Regions from separate parts of the Homo sapiens genome. Here all the other regions are linked to region 2. The links are contacts of gene promoters, found by promoter capture Hi-C in human tissues and cell types (Jung and others, 2019). All regions are on one chromosome and are shown on one strand. Each heading gives the region's core, a stretch centred on a gene start or on the middle of the fragment in contact. The rest is flanking DNA. Distances are from core to core; before and after follow the strand shown. Region 1 overlaps IGF1R (insulin like growth factor 1 receptor). Region 2 holds the start of LYSMD4 (LysM domain containing 4). Region 3 overlaps TTC23 (tetratricopeptide repeat domain 23). Region 4 overlaps TTC23 (tetratricopeptide repeat domain 23).

Region 1 (2,700 bases), core at 5-2,504, 870 kb before region 2:
ATGTTCTTGCCCTTTCTCCCTACAAAGGAGGTGAAGAAGATGACAGGAGATGTTAATTGCCAAAATAGTCTCATAGTTTTGGTCCTGGCTGCAAATCTCTCGTTTTTGATACTCAAGAGAATGCTATTGGGGAACTGACTCTGAAGCACAGCCCAGATGCTTGAGATGGGTTGGGAAGGTTTACATCAACACCATGAATTTAATTTATCATGTGACATTTTATTTCTGAGTTTTTAAAGCTGTAATTAAAAGAAGTGTTCAAAGTGTTGCTTTCCTCTTTTAGAATAAACGTGGCTGGGTGTGGTGCCTCATGCCTGTTATCCCAGCACTTTGGGAGGCCATAGGCAAGAGGATTGCTTGAGCCAGGAGTTTGGGACCAGCTTGGGCAACATAGGGAAACCACATCACTACAAAAAAAAAAATTAGCCTGTCATGGTAGCATGCACCTGTGGTCCCACTTACTTGGGAGGCTGAGGTGGGAGGATCACCTGAGTTCAGGAGGTCAAAGCTGCAGTGAGGTGTGATCATGCCCCTGCTCTCCAGCCTGGACAACAGAGCAAGACACTGTCTCAAATAAATAGGCAAACATTACCAACATGGCAAACAAGTTGGAGGAGGCCCCCTATTTAATTAAATTTCAGCAGTCCCAAATCTAATTGGTATGAAGAAATCATTATTCAGAATTTTCCATCACTGAAATACTAAAATCACTTGTTGTTTGAGACATCTTGGCCTGTCACCCAGGCTGGAGTGCAGTGTTGCTCTCATAGCTCACTGGAGCAGGAGCCTCAACCTCCCAGGTTTAAGTTAATGCTCCCACCTCAGCCTCCTGAGTAACTGCCACTACAGGCGTGTGCCACCATGCCCAGCTAATTTTTTAATTTTTCGTAGAGATGGGGTCTGTGTTGCCCAGGTCCCTCTTGAACTCCTGGCCTCAAGCTATCTTCTCCAGTCGGCCTCCCAAAGGGCTGTGATTACAGGCGGGAGCCACAGCGCTCAGCCTAAAAATAACTCTTTAGCCAAAAGAAAGTTTTAAAAAATTGTCTGTTGTATTCTTTGATTTTACTCTATGTGGTCTTTTCTATTATTTTTAAAATAAAAAAGATTTATACTCCTCAAGTGTAACATTTTATCAAATCTCATGCTTCTGTTTGATGAAACCGAATGGCTAAATTTTTTAAATATCATGCAATCCATCCCAGTTTGTAATTTTATTATGGCCCTCACACAAGAGCGTGCAAGCTATACTAAGCTTCCTGTGGCCCTCGTTTTTCCTCACTGATATTTGTAACTCATTCCAAATTAAATTTTAGGAGTCTGAAATGTAGCTGTTATATTTGGGAGATGTGAAGAAAAGAATCGTAGGCATCTCAGTAGGCTAGGTATCAGATCACACATGCTTGCTGGACCAAAGAGGACTCCTTACAGTAGGATACATGATTCTGAGTTAGTTTGTGTACTAAGTATATACTATATAGCTTTTGAAGGGGAGACGGGCACAGAATTCACAATATCATGCACTAAGGGTTATTTTGTGTTTGCAGTTTCCAGATGAATGTTTTAAAGTTGGCTGCAGAATACAGCGAGATAGGTAAAATCTATTTGAGTATTACTTACAGACCCCAAAGGATATCCCAAAGGATATGTTGGACTAATTCCTAAAATATCCTGTAAGTCATTGCAGGTACAGGCGTGGATCTGGGTTTGGAAACGCCGCCTGGATCGCTGGCTGGGCTCCTGCAGCCGCCAAGGAGGGGCTGGCTGGAGGTGGGGCTCGGCGTGCATAGCGGCCACGTGACTGCGCCCCGGCCACGCCCACCGTCCCTCACGTGGTCCCAGGCCACGCTGGGCTTCGGCATGTGCTAAAGTGGATAGAAAAGGGAGTGGGGCCCGGGCGTGGCTTTGTGGTTTGGGAAGATATGAACTCCTTGGGGTTTTTTTCTCTTTTAATTCTTTAATTTTGATATTTGGAAATGCGTAAAAGGTTTTTCATTTGTCCTTGACCACGTGGTCCAAACCTCAATTTCCCTAGCAGAACGCGGTTTCGATCACTGGTGGATCCGTCTCACAGCACCAGTCATGCTGCCTCGCTGGGAAGTGGAGGGCTCAGGATTCCCGTGGTTCACGATCCATTTTATGTTGGAAGGAAATCATTTTGAACTATCTCAGTACACACCCTAGTGTATCTTTAAACCTAATTGAGTGTTGATGGAAAATCTGCGGTCCGAGAACCGTAAGAAAAGGGGGCTCCCACCTCCCGCTCTGGGGTCGCCACTTGCCTCGCAGGCAGGAGGAGGCTCCCAGAGTAGATACAACTTGCCCGTCACCCGGATGGGTTGGTAGTGCACATATGCACGGGGCGCAGTTTAAAATGAAAGTAAAAGATGCAAATGTGTTTGCAAAAGAAAAATTAACATAGGATACGTGCGGGCGTTCTCAGTTGAACTCGGTCTTACTGTTCCACGCGAGCACCCCATGACTCAGAGCCCAAATCTCAGCGGAACAGCCCAGGACGCTCCTGCCGTCCACAGGAAGACGCCTCTGTCTCTGTCCCCCGCCGCCACCACACAGATGCACGTACTCTCTTCACTTCCGTGTACCCAGTAAATGCAGATCCTGATTTAAATCTGCAGCACGCTGCTTTCTTCCCATTGCATGTGGGAAGCTTCAGGTTCTCTTCGGTTTATTTTCTCATCACCT
Region 2 (2,700 bases), core at 11-2,510:
AAGAAGATAGGCAGAATAAAAACCCTTTGTTTTTTCTAATCGCATACGTTTTGTGCAGAAAACGAACCCCGCCCCTGTTCCTCATCCATAGCTGTCTCCCCTAAACCCACATCTGTAAAGAAACAACTACTTTTGCTCTCAGAGTAGTAAGTTGAGATCCTTGCAATGGCAAGTAAGGGCTGCCGCCAGCCTCCGCGCACTCAGAATCTTCAACTCAGAAGCTTTGCACAATAATTTTGTATTCAATATTTTACACATTGCAAAGTATCTTCACTAAGAAGGTCAGCGCTAAGGACTCTTGCTCAGAACTGTGGGGCTAAACTGCTCTTACTTTGACACAGTTTAACTCACAGTATGTGGGGCAAGCTACGGGGAGAACTCATGCCTGTCAGCCGGAGAAAAGCGTCCAGTTTGCTCACGGGTCACTTTGCATTCATTACATCCCCATTGTCTGGTTTTTATTTTCCCCTTGAGTCAACAGCCAAAGCCGCAAGACCCCTGTTCCTCTCTCCAGATTGTTCGCGTGAGATTCCAGAAACGAAATCTCAAACACGCGGGCTGACAACTTCAGAAAAAGGTGGCTTCGGAGCCACAGGGGAGCAGCCCGTACGGGGACAGCCTGCGGCCCCAGCTCGACCCCCTACTCCCCGCCCACGCCTTCGAGGGTCACAGGCCCACACCCCGCTCCGCGCGCTCCTGAGCCTGCCCGGAGGCGGGAGGCGGCCGGCGGTCCTCGGGGGGTTGAGGGTCACCTGCAGGACCACGGCGGCAGCCCGGGGACGGGGCCAGCCTTCGCGTCCGAGCTCAGGGGCGGCGGCAGCAGCTCCAGGCCCGCTTCCCTCCAAGTCCCTTCTGCGAAAAGATGGGGCACCTCAACAAGAGCTGACAGGAAAATGGGGAGCGGCCCGGCCCCAGGGCTCCACGGCTCCACGGGCGGGGCCCTAACATTCCAGAGGGCAGAACCTCTGACCTCTGACCCCCAACCCTAGCCACCTGGGGCCAGCCCACGACAGTCGCGGTCACCGCCCCTCCAGCTGGAGCGTCCCCCTAGGAGCCCGGGGAGGGGCGGCCCGCCCGCGAACCCTCGAGCGAGGCCAGGTCGCCGTACCGCCATGAGCCCGCGCGGCTCCCTAGCCAGACCGCGGCCCCCTCGTCCAGGCCCCGGTACCTCAGCGCCCAGGCTCCGCCGCGACCGGCGACCGGCGACTCGCGACCCGCGACCCGCGACCCGCAGCTGCCACCGCGCCTGCGGATTGGCTACGAACATCAGCAGGGCCCCCCTGGGGGCGGGACTGGGGAGGCAGCCAATGAAGTCAGCGCTGGGCGGGCACTGGAGCGAGCCTGGCTGCGCGGAGAGCTCATCCCGGGACCACAGGGCCCGGGGCGGGGCTCGGGGCGGGGCTCGGGGCGGGGCTCGACAGGGTTCCACACCCCGGAAGTGGCCCTCGCCCCGCCCACCCGCCTACCAGGTCTACCCGCGCGGGCCCTGGCTTGTTTTCGCGTCTGTTCGGAGTAATAAGGCACCTCAGCTCCTCCCTCCCAAAGTGCTTGGCTTTCTGCTGAGCCGCAGCTTTCTCGCCCGTAAAGAGGCCTTTGACCCCACTTGTGGGTAATGATCTGTAGCTGTGACTCGGGGTGGATTCCAGTAGCGTGGGGTCCCCTGAGCCCTCCTGCGGGGAAGGGCTGGGCGCAGATGGGCGAGGGGTCTTTCTGCGGCGGGATCTGCGCTCCTGGGCCTTTGAGGGCCGCACCAGGGGAGGCATTGCCCCACCCCGAGAAGAAAACAGAAATCCACGAGTGTAAAACATGGATGCGGACAACAGGGACCAAGAAAACTTAAGTCGTGTTTATCAAATGTCAGGTGGCCGAGGATTTCTTAAGATGAAAAGTGGTGGAAGAATTCTCACACACTGGCCGGGCGCGGTGGCTCACGCCCGTAATCCCAGCACTTTGGGAGGCCGAGGCTGGTGGATCACGAGGTCAGGAGTTCGAGACCAGCCTGGCCAAGATGGTGAAACCCCGTCTCTACTAAAAAAATAAAAATAAAAAAAAATAAAAAAGTTAGCCGGGCATGGTGGCGGGCGCCTGTAATCCCAGCTACTCAGGAGGCTGAGACAGAGGATTGCTTGAACCCGGAGGCGGAGGTTGCAGTGAGCCGAGATCGTGCCACTGCACTCCAGCCTGGGCAACAGAGGGAGACTCCATCTCAAAAAAAAACAAAAACAAAAACCTCACACACTAAGGCACAAAGTTCAGAGCTTCTACTTAAAAAGGAAAACCAAAATTAAAAAGCAGATAACCTAGGGAAAATAAACTGAACACAACAAAGGATTAAAATCCTTCGCTGAGAGAGACTTCATATGAATAGGAAAGATGCTAAGACCTCAGCAGGTCTGAGGGAGACCTCAGAGAGACAGGAGCAGATAATTCAGCAAACAATGCAAATGGTCAACAGGTTGAAAATGTTTTTAACCCTCACTTGCAATCAGATTAAACAACAAAGCAAACATTAAAACAAGATCTCACAAACCTTTTCCCACTAATAGGATTTGACTGTGTCCACACCCAAAACTCATCTTGAATTGTAGCTCCCACAGTTTCCACCTGTTGTGGGAGGGACCTGGTGGGAGGTGATTGAATCATGGGAGCAGGTGTTTTCTGTGCTGTTCTCCAGATAGCGAATGAGTCTCACTAGATTTG
Region 3 (2,727 bases), core at 5-2,504, 520 kb before region 2:
AAATTTTGAATAACAGAATGTGGCAGTATGTTAATTTGGCAGGTGCACAACTTAAGCCATGGCATATTTTATTGAATGAAAGTTTATACGCAGTAATTCTACAGAGCACAAGAGGAGACACTATCTCATTGCAGACAAGTTTCAGATCTCATAGGGATGGAGACTCGTTTTAACAAGCAATAAACAAATGCAATTTCTGGTATTACTAAGGCAACAGAGTTTCCTTTTAAAAACTCTGGAATTTGGCAAGAATATTGAGCACCAGTATAAAGGAAAGGCTTTGTGTGAATATCACTGATCAGAATCTGATGAGAAACCAATCCCAAAAGATAACAAATGGGATTTTCCATAGCCAACATGAGAAAAGAATTACATCTGGGTATCTTTTTATCACCTGATACATACAGGTAAAGGCTTTGCTCTGTTGAATGCATTGTGGGGTTTCCAGTCTACATCAGTGAATGTAATGTGTGCCATGGTCAGGAGCTTGGACACTAGCGTTGAATAAGCAGGGCTCTGCTGGGCCACTTTCCAGCTTTATCGCTTCCTGCCTGTGTGACCCTGGAAGTGACCTCACTTCTCTCAGCTTTAGATGCTACATTTGAACATGGGAATACTAACAGTATCCACTACACAGAGAGGACTAAGAATGAAAGGAGATGACATCTGTAAAGCACTTAGCAAAAGCCTGACACAGAAGGTGGTCAATAATTGGTAGCTAGTGTGGTTTTAAAAAAATCATTATTATTATATTTTTGAGAAGGGGTCTCACTCTGTCACCCAGGTTGGAGTCCAGTGGCATGATCTTTGCTCACTGCAACCTCTGCCTCCCGGTCTCAAGCAGTCCTCCTACCTCAGCCTCTGGAATAGCTGGGACTACAGGTGTATGCTACAACGCCTGGCTAATTTTTTGTATTTGTAATTATGTATTAGTTGTATTAATTTGAGACAGGGTTTTGCCATGTTGCCCAAGCTGTCTCGAACTCCTGGGCTCAAATGGTCCGCCTGCTTCGGCCTCCCAAAGTTCTGGGATTACAGGTGTAAGTCACTGTGCCCTGCCTATTATTTGATATATATTATTATATGTTGTGTTATTTATTTAGAGATATATGATTATATATTTATGTTACATATTAATACTAATAACATGTCATTTTAAAACATGATTCTATTATTTAAATCATTATTCTCATATATTTAGGAAAAGGTACATTATAAGGGTATAATGTCAGAAAAGGAAAGACAGAAATGCAGTGCTCTAAAACATTAAAGCTTTAGGAGATTCAAGAAATAGAAAGCAGATAAAGTATATGAGAGTAACCTGTGCCATGTGGTTTTTCTTTGGCTTCCCCACATTGAAAATAATAATAATAAAAACAAAAATGAGACTTGTGTAAGTTAAGAGCATATCTTCAACCACAGAAATATAGGATTAGGAAGAGTCCCAGAGAAAAAAAGCAATTTCCTTCTTTGTTAAGTAAGCAAAAAGTATTCTAGGCACATAGTGTCCCACAGGAGCAGCTGACAGGAGAAACATGTCTGCTGGAGAAGAGCAGGATGTTCTCAGGGAGCAGGCAAGGGAGAAGCAGGACTTGGAACATGTGAGCATCTGTAAGAGCCTTTATGTCCAAAAGAGAGAAGCAGAGAAAATGCAACTTAGACATCAAGGAACCTCAGGTGATGGTAAGAACTAAAAATTTTTTTAAATGCTGAGTCCAGAAAGCAAAAGTTAGATGTAGAAATTTCTGACTGGACCAATTTTGGGAGGACTATGGGATCTAAGAGCAAAGGTTATTATTGAAGTATCAAAAATTCCACTGGGAAGCATTTCTGGAGCAGCTTATGGAACTAAGTAGAACCCCATCATCTCAATGAGGTGATGGCAGGTAGATACATATTCTGTTCCCCTTGCCACATCACTTCTCCATTATTTTCTCCTCCTTCCTAGTAAGTACGAGTTAAGGGAGAAATCTTCCCCATCCCCTTTCCTTTTGGAAAACTTGTGTTAGAATAACTTTCCAAACCTCACAACTTCAATGAATCAAGAGAGAGCAAGACAAAGAAACAAAATCAAGCTTAAGGAAATAAGAATATACAGGTTGGGTGCAGTGGCTCATGCCTGTAATCCCAGCACTTTGGGAGGCCAAAACAGGTGGATCACTTGAGGTCAGGAGTTTGAGACCAGCCTGGTCAACATGGTGAAACACTGTCTCTACTAAAAATACAAAAATTAGCTGGGCGTGGTGGCACACATGTGTAATCCCAGCTACTTGGGAGGCTGAGGCAGGAGAATCGCTTGAACCTGGGAGGTGGATGTTGCAGTGAGTCAAGATCACGCCACTGCACTCCAGCCTGGGTGACAGAGAGTCTCAAAGACAAAAAACAAACAAACAAAAAAAAAGAAGAAGTAAGTATATACAATTGTCTGATTTTAGCTTAGATGATTCATGAGAGCAAAGAAAACAAAATGTAGCCTTCCCAAGGCACAGGGAAAAAATGCAGAAAAAAATTGCACACCAAGGGCAGTCTTGAAGTACAAAACCTTAATATGTGATATAAGTACCTGATTTAAAATCACCTCTGGGATGAAACAGCAGAAAGGAAAATGTTCAATTAGATCATAATGATAATTATATTGCCCTTTTCTTTCTTGCTTTCTTGCTTCTGAGGGTCTCCCATGCACCTAGATGCTTTAAAGTAATATCTTTTTAATCTTCACAGCAACCC
Region 4 (2,700 bases), core at 20-2,519, 580 kb before region 2:
TCAGTCACTATCGCAAGAACGGCATGGGGGTAACCGCACCCATGGTTCAATCACCTCCCACAGGGTCCCTACCATGACACATGGGTATTATAGGAACTATAATTCAAGACGAGATTTGGGTGGGGACACAGCCAAATCATATCACCTCTGGTTGAACAAGAGTCAGGAAACAACACGAATGTGAGGAAAGGTGTAAACTATGAAGAGAGAGGACACCTGGCAAAATAAACCCACTCAGCCATTACAGGAATCCATTTCAGTTGAGTAGTAAGAACAAAAGCTGACATGGATCAGTCCTCACATGTCACTAATTGTGCTGAACACACACAATTGTGTGGGTCTCATTTAATTTTTGCTGTCTTCTTTAGATGGGTAAAATTTTAATCCTCATTAGGCAGAGGAGGAAACAGGCACGGCAGTTAAGAAACTTGCTCAGAGTCAGAGGGCTCAGCTGTGGTGGTGCTAGGATCTGAATCCAGCCAGTGATCTTCATACCTTTTTTTTTTTTTTTTTTTAAATCCGTCTCACCGTCTCAGCAGATCTTCCATTTTACAACAGCAGGTGGAAATCTGGAGGTTTTTTTTTTTTTTTTTTTAGACAGAGTCTCTCTTTGTCTACCAGCCTGGAGTGCAGTGGCATGATCTCAGCTCTCTGCAACCTCTGCCTCCCAGGTTCAAGCGATTCTCCTGCCTCATCCTCCCAAGTAGCTGGGATTGCAGGCGCCCACCACCATACCCAGCTAATTTTTGTATTTTTAGTAGAGACAGGGTTTCACCATGTTGGCCAGACTGGTCTTGAACTCCTGACCTCAAGTGATCCACCCACCTTGGCATCCCAAAGTGCTGGGATTACAGGCGCGAGCCACAATGCCCAGTCTAATTTTCATACATTTTAGTCCCATGCTTTTCTCCCTCTGTCCACAATGCTATTCTTACAGAAGTGAAAATATAGCATTCCTGGGCAAATTATCTATGTATAGAACATCCTGAACACACTCCAGGCTTGGCTATTCTCATAGGAAATCGTTTAGGAAACTGAAAGTAAACATTCCAACATGACATGACATTTTGTTTGGTTTATCCAATTTATTTATACTAACATGGAATAAAAATTATGAATTGGTCAGGACATAGTATTTCCTGATATTAGCTTCTTCAGACACCAAAATATGCAGGGGGAAACCCTGTTAAAGTATGTCAATCCTCCATACTTTCTCCAGAAATTCTTCCACGATCTTCCACATGAAGGCACGACATCAGCTGCAGAGCATGGATGCTGAATTTAACTGGCAAATACAGCAGGGACCATGGGAGCTTCCTCATGACACAGCCCCAAAGGGGTCCCAAAAGTGCTCCACAAACAGAAGGACAAGGAGGGCGTTTAATCCTTTTGTTGGCAATAATACAAGTTAGGGGATAGGGCCGGGGTAGGGGAACCACATTACAGGTGCTGATGAGGCAGAAATAAATTTCTCAGGTGAAAGAGGAATCTCTGTAGAGGCAGAGTGATTGTGTAACTCAGCAGTGAGGCCCCACTGAGGTACATGAGGGACTAGAATTTAAATCTAGACTTGCCTGAGGGTAAAGCCCATCACATCTCCCAAGTTCTGAGAGCAAGGACTTGGACTGCTGAGAGTGCTGGGTTTGGTGATATTTCTGTGGGAAAATATCACTGTCAGACTTAGAGGAGCCAGTGATGGGGAGAAGACCCGGGGAGACTCCCTTTCCCAGATAAAGCTTTGGATGCCGCCTACAGCCTGACTGCGGAAACGGGGAGATGTGAAGGAAGTTAAATGGCACGGGTTTCTAGGAAACTGAGATAGTATCAACCTCTGCTAGGAAAAGCTTAAGAGAGAGGAGTGAAGAGTAAAGAGGACTTAGGTGGGATGAGAAGAGGGTATGGGCCACTGGGAGCACAGGAGGAACACATGGCCTGTTGAGGGCCAGTGAGTGGCCAGGCTGAGGAAGTCACAGAAGATTCTTGAGCAAAAGAGTGGCACAACTAGAAGACAAACCCTCACGGAGTAGCTTAACCTGTGGCAGAGTGACCTTCACTTACATTTTACCTTAAAAGGCATTTCATCCCTCAAATATCATGTTCCACAGTGCCCATGGCCATGTGCTGTGGGAACACCTGGGATGGCCTGAGCACAGCCCCATTCTTGGCTCCGGGACTGTCCCTGGGCCCGGCCCTTGTTGGCCAACACCTGCTAGAACCCACAGTGAGAGGTTTGCAACCAAATGGTGAGAACAGCATGAGACTGCCATGTTTGGCTGGGCAGGTGGTGCCACACACAAGGGTGCCTGGCAGGAGCATGGGGAGGGCTGAAATCCAGCCTATGGTCCTCTCCAACATGGGCGGTATCTACCTGAGGAAGGGGCAGCTTTTTCTATTATGATAAGGGCATTGGATGGGCTGGCAGTGGCCCTAGAATGAAAAGAGCCAGTTTGCTAAAATCTTCGAGGGCAGCTTAGGAGAGTGAGGTGCATCTTTTGATCAACACTGATCTGGGTGACTTGGGCAAGGGCAGTGAGGCATAGCATCAGTGACACTGAGCATTGGCTGACTCAGCAAGACACTATGGTGGGAAGCCAGGCAGTACAGGGGAACTGATGCATGGCCCACAGGAGTCAGAACAGTCAGCTGGCCTGTGGCCAAACATGCATCCACCTCTCTGCTCATCACTCCTCACCACAGGCA

The links. The method cuts DNA at HindIII sites, captures the fragments that hold promoters and counts their contacts. A contact is called where the count stands out against the background at its distance.
Region 1: a fragment that was not itself captured here is called in contact with the fragment with the promoter of LYSMD4 in region 2 in 1 of the 25 tissues and cell types used here (dorsolateral prefrontal cortex).
Region 3: a fragment that was not itself captured here is called in contact with the fragment with the promoter of LYSMD4 in region 2 in 3 of the 25 tissues and cell types used here (dorsolateral prefrontal cortex, mesendoderm cells and spleen).
Region 4: a fragment that was not itself captured here is called in contact with the fragment with the promoter of LYSMD4 in region 2 in 1 of the 25 tissues and cell types used here (mesendoderm cells).

The regions. Positions count from the first base shown.
Region 1 is chr15:98,863,684-98,866,383 of GRCh38, forward strand. The region is part of intron 2 of IGF1R (insulin like growth factor 1 receptor); the gene reads left to right. Among named protein-coding and RNA genes, the nearest start is that of MIR4714, 81 kb to the left of the region's middle. The HindIII fragment of the contact is 4,208 bases long and covers 1-2,700 here.
Region 2 is chr15:99,732,177-99,734,876 of GRCh38, forward strand. It overlaps LYSMD4 (LysM domain containing 4), which reads right to left and starts at 1,261. Exons shown (of 3, transcript NM_001284417.2): 1 at 1,169-1,261. RefSeq lists silencers at 711-820, 861-1,590. The HindIII fragment of the contact is 11,257 bases long and covers 1-2,700 here.
Region 3 is chr15:99,208,996-99,211,722 of GRCh38, forward strand. The region is part of intron 8 of TTC23 (tetratricopeptide repeat domain 23); the gene reads right to left. Among named protein-coding and RNA genes, the nearest start is that of TTC23, 39 kb to the right of the region's middle. The HindIII fragment of the contact is 3,671 bases long and covers 1-2,727 here.
Region 4 is chr15:99,156,636-99,159,335 of GRCh38, forward strand. The region is part of intron 11 of TTC23 (tetratricopeptide repeat domain 23); the gene reads right to left. Among named protein-coding and RNA genes, the nearest start is that of TTC23-AS1, 19 kb to the left of the region's middle. The HindIII fragment of the contact is 3,393 bases long and covers 1-2,700 here.